2 separate regions of the Homo sapiens genome follow, and region 1 is linked to region 2. Evidence: promoter capture Hi-C in human tissues and cell types (Jung and others, 2019). All regions are on one chromosome and are shown on one strand. The core of a region is centred on a gene start or on the middle of the fragment in contact, and the rest is flanking DNA. Distances in the headings are between cores, read along the strand shown. Region 1 has its middle 190 kb from the start of MYT1L. Region 2 holds the start of MYT1L (myelin transcription factor 1 like).

The links. Contacts are between HindIII fragments. The study calls those that stand out against the background at their distance.
Region 1: a fragment that was not itself captured here is called in contact with the fragment with the promoter of MYT1L in region 2 in 4 of the 25 tissues and cell types used here (dorsolateral prefrontal cortex, hippocampus, mesendoderm cells and 1 more).

Annotation. Positions count from the first base shown.
Region 1 is chr2:2,523,142-2,527,410 of GRCh38, reverse strand. No RefSeq gene overlaps it. Among named protein-coding and RNA genes, the nearest start is that of MYT1L, 190 kb to the right of the region's middle. RefSeq lists an enhancer at 1-581. The HindIII fragment of the contact is 4,219 bases long and covers 1-4,041 here.
Region 2 is chr2:2,328,861-2,332,863 of GRCh38, reverse strand. MYT1L (myelin transcription factor 1 like) reads left to right here and starts at 1,589. Exons shown (of 25, transcript NM_001303052.2): 1 at 1,589-1,897. The HindIII fragment of the contact is 11,173 bases long and covers 1-4,003 here.

The sequences.
Region 1 (4,269 bases), core at 683-3,182, 190 kb before region 2:
GTCACGTCATTACCTCATTAGGAATGAGTGTTTCAGCTGACATGCAGGAAATGACCTCTTGCTGACTAGGGTTGGTGATGTCAGGCACTGCTGCAGCTGAGTCACCCATGATACAATGGGCTAAGTCATACACTTCATTACTAACACTTACCTTAGGAATCCTAGACATAACCTTTTCAGAGGAGCTGGGGAAGAGGGCTCGGTGAGCCAGAGGGGATCTGTCATAGAACCCTCCTCTGATCTTATAGGGAATTCTAGAAGGGGCACGAAGCTTGAGGGGAGAGGAGCTATGTTTTAATTTCTAATCAATCACTTATTATATCTCTGTCCTTGGCCAAGATTCTTACCTCTTTTGGCATTAATGTTCTCATTTGTAAAACAGAAACATGATCAGCCCTCTGCCTCCCAAAATCAAATGAGGTGATATGCATGAGAACATTTTGTATACCGCAAATGGTATTTCTGATGGCTCCAGTGTTGACAGCATTAAATACTGTGATTATTTATTTTTAATGATCTGTGCCCAGCACACAGGTAGGATGAGGAACAGGAAAATCTGGAAGGGAGACTGGCTTTGCTGTTTTGCTCAAGGCCTGCTCCATCAGGTGGGAGGATGGGCTCTGGGTGGAGAGCAGTGGAGGAGCTGGGAGGTCAGGGGAAGGCCGTGCAAGGCTGCGGAGGCTTCTCTTCTCATTTTGCAAAGGCAGGAACAGGAAGGGACAACTGAGTGGGTAGTGTATAGGAAATGAAGCACACAGAACCAAGAGCTGCCCCTGGGCCAGTGCCCACACTTAGCAAACAGGGGATAAAGACCCATCATCCAAGGAGCAAACCAGCCATTAAAAATGTAAGATGAAAATTAAGGTAGCATAAGGCCCTGAAAGCCAAAAAAGACAGGTTTTCCAGGAGGGAACACGGTAAAAAGTGATGCAGAGAAGATGTCAAGAACCAAAAGAATGAGGGCCAACAAAAGGCCTTTGATTTAGCAATAAGACATCTTTGGTGCCCTGCTAGAAGTTTACGGCAGCTCCACATGGGAGCCACAGGAGAGGGCACATTGTGAGGACACACAGCCTCCTACACCCCCAGGACTTGTCCTGATCACACGTTTGCAAAAGGTCCATCAATTGATTAATTGTTAGGAGGCTACATTTTTAAAACTTTAAAAATTTTCTCTACATCCTAGTTATATTACTAGCCTAGAAAAATTAAAACAAAAATTAATACCAATGAATCCTCATTAGGAAATTTAAAACATGAAACTACCCAGTCAGATTTTCAGGTTGCATGAAGAAGGTTTCATACCATCTGAAAAGGCTTTACCAATGGCTTAGAAAATCACTGTGCACCACCACCTGCAGTATTCTGTTACCAGGCAGGATTTGGAATTTCTCAGCAGGCGTGGCCCCTTGGTGAACCTGTGTATATCAAGCTGCCTTCTGAAGATATCTAATCTCGAGAGGTCTAATAGATGCTGTCATGGACTAATGAGAAGGTTAATATGTAAAAGTCATTAATAGAAGAACCCTCTTTAATTACAAACTGAAACAGTAAAGCAAAACCAAAATGTCCAGAACAATATTTAGGAGCATGTGTTTCGACTTGGGTTGTGATAAAAATCACTTCTGCCCCCAGTACCATGGTGAGATGCAAAATGGTACTGCATGTCTGGATGCTGGTTTCAGATACCCTCCTCCTTCCTTACAGAAACTGTTTTTGGGAAGGTTGAGCTCTGAGTCATGCATAGGAGTATGGATTCGCTTTCCTGGGTTCACTTCTAGCCAGTAGTCTCTGTGTTTTAAAAATTTAATTCTAATGGATGAATGAAAATTAATTTTAATTAGGGAAGCTGATGGGGAAGGTTTTGGCAGGAGTAGAGCTCTGCTTGAATTCAGAAAATCAATCCAAACAGAGCAGCTTCCGTCGCCCCTGGAACTAGGCTCTGTCCTACATAACCAGGTCAGCAATGGGCCGTCTTCTTATCTGTTATGAGACTGCGGAATTTGGGGCGAGCAGCACACGTTTCCTATTGCTGCATCAGTGTCACACTATACACACACCTTCACCTTTGTGTTCTCCAAAAGGGAAATCCCTGTCCCATGGGTCAATGTCACTAGACTGTGAGTGGTGGGTCCTGGGGTTTCTTTCCTGGCCTGACACCCTGGCTGGGCTGGGGTGCCAAGGAACACGGGAGTGTTGAGGTGAAACACCTTAGCTGCCAACCCTCTAGTGTGTGACAAGGGGAACCATGGAATTTCTCTGGGTTTTTTTTCTCATGTCCAAAATGGGGCAAACGATGTCTTTGCAAATCTGATTCACAACATGGTGGTAGGATACAGAGGGCTGATGGCACCAGCATGCTCCAGGAAGGCACCCAATGTGTTAAGGTTGCAAAGCTACGGATGAAGCACTTCCTTCTGCAAGCTTAAGCTCTCTAAATCCTCCTTTCCTTATGCCTTCTCACCCTTCACATCACAGAGGAGTTAGAGGTGAGAGGAAAATGAGACCCAGCAGGAGCAGGGAGACCGCAACTAGAGACAGGACATGGAGTGGCCCTGAAGAAGGTGCCTGTGACGGCCTTCTCTGGTCTGGTGACACACGGCCGTGAGGGCCACAAGACACAATGGTTGCCCAGTTCCAATGGACTCACAGAGCTGCAGCTGCCGTGGGGCCTCCCTCCGTTCCATCATTGGCTCTTTGCCAATGATGTGTCTGGTTCTCTCCATGTGTCTGGTTCTCTCAGAGAAGAGAAGCATTTAAGCACATTCTGATCCTACCCATTGATGCTGCTCCCAGCTCAGGTACAGCCTTTTCCCTTTAGTTAAAGCCCACGATGCCATATCCAAGGTGCACTGTTCAGCCAGAGGCCGGGGTGTGCCAGTGTCCCTGCATTCAGAGACCGTCCGTGGGGCTGAGACGGAGCAGCTTCAAGATGTGTTCCCTCCCACACTTTCTCATTTCAGGATCCCAGGCAATCAGTGTGGGGTGACAAATGGCAGTGGCTTTACTGCTGTTGGTGTTCTGAGATCCGAATGAGGTTGCAGCCAGAAGCCCAAGGATGAAGTATGGCATTAAAATAATCAAGATTAAAAATATGTACCCTCCCAAGTCAGCAGAGCAGAGCTAACAACCCCATATAAAGAAGCTTTGCGTGGGATGATCCTGTGTCTGGGAGGCAGGAGCAGAGATGCAGCAGCTATAAATCTCCCTCCTGCACCCACTGCAGAGCCAGGGCCAGGAGGGATGCAGAGAGCAGAGCTGTGAGAGTGCTTGCAGTGGGAGCAGGGAAGGCATGTGTGTGCATGTGTGTGCCTGTGTGTGCATGTGTGCATGTGTGTGTGTGAGACAGAGAAAGAGAAAGAGAGACAGACTCCAGGAGGGATAGGGAGAGTATGCAAGGTAGGTGCAGCCTGACCTGACAGGGAATGCCAGTACTCATTTTTCTCTTATGTAACCTGGAATGGCAGCCCTGCTTTCCTGACTTCAGCCTGTGCATTTATCTTTTAAAATTGCATTTTGCCATAAATCAAGATTCCACAGCATGGTCTTTTTTTCTTCATGTCTGCAACCCCTAGAAAATCTCCCTCCTCCCCTTTCCCTCTCTCTGTCGTCTGCACCTCCCTACTCCCTTCCACGCTCAGTTCATGGATCACATCCAGCAGGCTCCCTTCTCTTCTGTTCCTGCTATAAATAGTAACTTTTCAGATGACAACTTGCTTCTTTAGGGGTAGAAATCTATCTTCCAATCCACAAACATGCATAAGACACCTGCTATGTGTTACCCTGCATGTTAGGAGCCGTGCGTGTATGTGTGTGTGTGTGTGCAGTGCATCTGCAAGCGTGTGTGTGTGTGGATGGGGCTCCTTAGAAACAGTAACGGGTTTGTAAACTTAGAGCTCAGGAATCTCAATCTAAGGAGGTGGGTGAGGCACTGAGGGCAGGAGGTGTACATAAGTGACTGCAACACAGTTCAAATGAATAATTATATTTAAAAAGTTTAAAATAAAGAGGTGCAGGAGAAAGCAAGTTTCTGTGGAACTAGAAAGGCTAAGGAGGCCAGCATAACATCATGTATTTTATTCTCCTATGACAGGAGGACTTTTCATGAGGAATGAGCGTGGCTCTAGGCCCTCAGGGCTTAGGATTCTAAAGGGACGTTGACCCATCTGTATCTTTGTCACACCACTGTCCCTTACCGAAGCTCTGTAAATTCATTAATTCACTCATTCATTGGGGATTCGAGTAAACTAATAAAATAGTTTTCTTATT
Region 2 (4,003 bases), core at 340-2,839:
CCCTGGAATACTCGGCAGAGGTGCTGCAAAGTAAAGCTTATTTGAGGGCAATCTTGAAGCTATGCCTGAGAATTTTAAACAACAAAATATCCAAGATTTATTTTTTCAATTGTGTTCGATTATTTTATTAGCTAGTAGCTTTCTCTGTTTTAATTCTCTGTGTTGCATAATATCTAGGATACAGTAACAGGCTGGTTGCAAATGCTCGAAACAGAAATAGGTTTCTTCATAGGCTGTGTTTCAGCATGTCCAACTGTGAGCCTGTGAAGCAGAGCATCGGAGTTCTCTCGAGGTCTGTTGCTTCAGATTTGGTTAGAAATTATTGAATCTGGAGTGTAAAAATCTTGTCTGGGCCTTTTAGGCAGCTTGATTTTAAAACTAGCCCTTCTGCCCCAAGACTTATCAACCGCCCCCCCACCCTGTCCCAAAAGAAAAGCTGAAGTAAGTTCAGTGTTAAAATAATGGTGCTGTCAGGCAGGCAGTCTGCATGTGAGCAGCAGAAAATTAGAAGAATAGAACCATCCATTCTCGTTTCCCCCCGCGACATGCACGCACACATACGTGCACACACACACACACACCACACACACACACACAGACAACACCAGTCAGTGAAGGGGGAAAAGGGTGATACCTTTTTAAAAAATGAAAGGCAGTAAGCCATTATTAGCAAGAGCTATATTGAGCATGCTTGCCAGACAAGCAGCAAAGCTGAGCTCCAGTTCCGCCCAGACATGTGCCTTGCCATTTTCATTTTAATCAGCCTGCTCAGGATGGCTGCTGATTCATTTTGCAGGATGTCCCCCTGGGAGCCAAGGTGGAAGCCTGAGGCGAGCTGCTATTGCATCAATGCAGCACATCAGAGCGAGAGCGCGGAGGCAGAGGGAGGAGAGAAAGCCTTCAGCACCGCATCCCGATTTCAATATGGCTAGTTAGAAGGTCCTGCATGAAACCGAGTCTATTGCAGAAAACATAATGAAAGGAAAGGAAAAGAAAAAAGTCACATTGTCATTTCATTATCCAACTATTCTCTCCCCCAACCCCTTCTTGCCACCAACAGACACACACACGTACACATTTTACAGTGACCATGAAAGATTTCAAGCCACTCTGTGGAAGTGTGTGTGTGTGTGTGTGTGTGTGTGTGTGTGTGTACTATTTACCTGGTAACTAGCTGGGGTGGTATACCTGATTTAGCTGGAGACTTTGATTTGTAGGACTGACAACCTTATTATGCAGTGAGTTTATTATTGATATTATTCTGCTCTCGGTTGCCATGGCCACCTTGTGAGAGACATTCAATTTTCTCTCTTCCATCATCATTATCTATGAGGCCATCTGTTGTGGAAAATGAATTCAGCCTCATTTGCATGACTGATAAGCAATTTTTTTTTTTATCTATTTAACAGAAGGTCATATGCCGGGGATTTGGAGCTTGTGAAAAAAAAATGTGGAAAAAAAAAAAAGCCTAGGAGAGGATGAGTGGGAGCGTGTGCATGGGGGTGTGTGGAAGTCAAACAGATCCCTGAGGCCTGCGAGCCTATCGCGCTGCATTTGTCATTCCTGCCCGGGCGACATTTTTTTTTTCCCTAAGCTACTGCACACTAAACAGTGAGAGAGCTTTTCCCTGCAGTCTTGTTGAAGCACCCCGGGTTTTTTGCTCATTGTTGGTGGGTGCATTTTAATTTTTTCATTCCCTGGACTATGGGTTATGATATCCATACTCACTGAAGACAAAAAGCCACCTTTTCTGCGTCTTGGTGGCATGCATGTGTCTCATCATCCTTTCAAACTTGTGGTGGAACAGGGTTTTCTTCCCTGTCTGTGTATTTTGAGCCAGCACAGTTACCAAAATTGAACTTGTCTTTCGCTTGTGAGCGGTTGTGGTCATTGTGAGGTACGTGATGTTCGTTAGGTTAATTTTTCGGGGAACTTAGTGAGCAGGATGTGTTTTACCGTAGCTCAAGGGCTGAGGCTGCTATTCCATTGTCTGCTCCTTTTTAAAGTTATTTTTACAGCATGGCTGGTAGCTGAAATGTTCCTGGACTGGAGGCTTTGTAATCCACAAAAAAATCTGTCTTTAAACTAAAATGGGTATTAGGTTGCATGACTTAACTGTGATGTTGTTTATTAAGAAAAAAAGAAACAAAAACAAAACGGGGTGCATGTATGGTGTTTGGAGGATAAGAGGATACTGAAACAAAAACTTCCCAGAGACTTTACTGGATTACTTTACATTACAAATGAAGCACATCATTTTATGCAAAGGCAATTAAAATGTTAGCTATTTTGGATGAATTTACCTGATGGTAAGAAGAAAGTTGATTTATATTGTTTAAGTGGAGAAACTCAAATAAAGATTTTTAAATTTAACTTAAATGTTTGAAGTTCATAATAATGAAAGAAAATGTTATTTATAACAGAAATATGTCTTTTTGTAACACCTAAATTAATAAACTAAAAGATTAAACTCTACACTTTAGTTTTAAGATAGATCTGAATAAAGCAAAAATATATATGTAAATATTTATATGAAAGTTAGCTATATAAAATATAGAGAACAGATTTTGAATTTAGTATTAACCATGACAATTTCTTGTACCATCAAAGCTATATAAGCTAAATAATTTCTAAGTTACTTAGAGTAAAACTATTTTATATAAGAGCCTTTTTGTTCAAATGTTTATATTTTCTACTAAACAAAATTAACGTCATAGACCAAAGCATCCCAAAACCACCCTTACTGGCATATGAGGGTCTTTCTAATTGTTCATCTTCATTTAGTGTCATGTAGCTTTAAAAATAATAAAGTCATGTCTCCCATACAGATAAAAATGTAATTATTTTTAAAAGAAAAGAGTTTTATAAAATATTCCTTTTCAAAAAAAAAAACAGCATTGCATTCCTATAAGTTTTCACCTCTCAAGAACTTTGAATCCAAAGTGTTGATTGTAAGTTATAAATGCTACTAAGAGAAACATTCCAGAAAAAAAGGAAGTTTGTTTTTTCTGATTGACCTAAAAGAACATGTATGATTCTATCACCTCAAATGCAGTAAGTTAATTGCTTAAAAGTCTCCTTAAAGTTATACTTGAGTGATAAATTTTCTTTATTAACTAACATAGACCACTACTGATGTGTGTGTGTGATGGTACTTTACTTGATTGCACTTTGAAAACTCTTACCATACTATCATACACTTTTCATAAACAATAACAGTTGTTATATAATCCTTCTGCTTTTAATCAGCCATATTTCTTTATATTTTAGCTTGATTTTCAGAGAAATAAGTTTATTTTAAATATTAATTGTGCATTTAAAGAATTTAAAACAATAAAATTCTGATAGATTATGAAGATTATTTAAAGTGACATCAGCTTTCTCAGAGGACTATAAGAATCAGTAATATGAGATCTGGATCTATATTATAATATGAAGGATTATGTTGTTGTCTTTTGATCTGTACATATAGTCTTCAGATTCGTGAATCAAAATTATCAACATCTAAAAAAACCTATGAGATAGCACAGTTGATTTTTCTCTCCTCCCCACCCCCACCCACAAAAAGTTAATTACCAATCTTGGTTGGATTCTTCCTTGCCTCCCTGACATTTGACTGCTGCTAATTCACTGATTAATCTCATTAATGTGATTATAGTAGGATTTAGAGTTGGCTGCCATTGTTCTGTAGACAGTGCTATTCAGGCTGAGCACTTGCCACCTCATTCAGTTTTGCTGTGATTTTTCAAAGGCTGGTGGAGTGAGCTATTGTGAGCAGGCTTCTCTGCCTTCCCTTTCAGCACCAGGAGCTGTCCGCAGCTGATAGCGATTGCATTCAACAGTGACTGACTTCCTCCTAGTTTATTGGCAATGTGAAAATGGCTCACTTTCATCACCTTAATGATTGTGCTAGTTGAGGTAGAAGTAGGAGAAGCCTTCATGGTCACATTTGGATGTTTTGAAGATGGTGGCAGCAAAGATATCTATACTTGAACATTTTTAT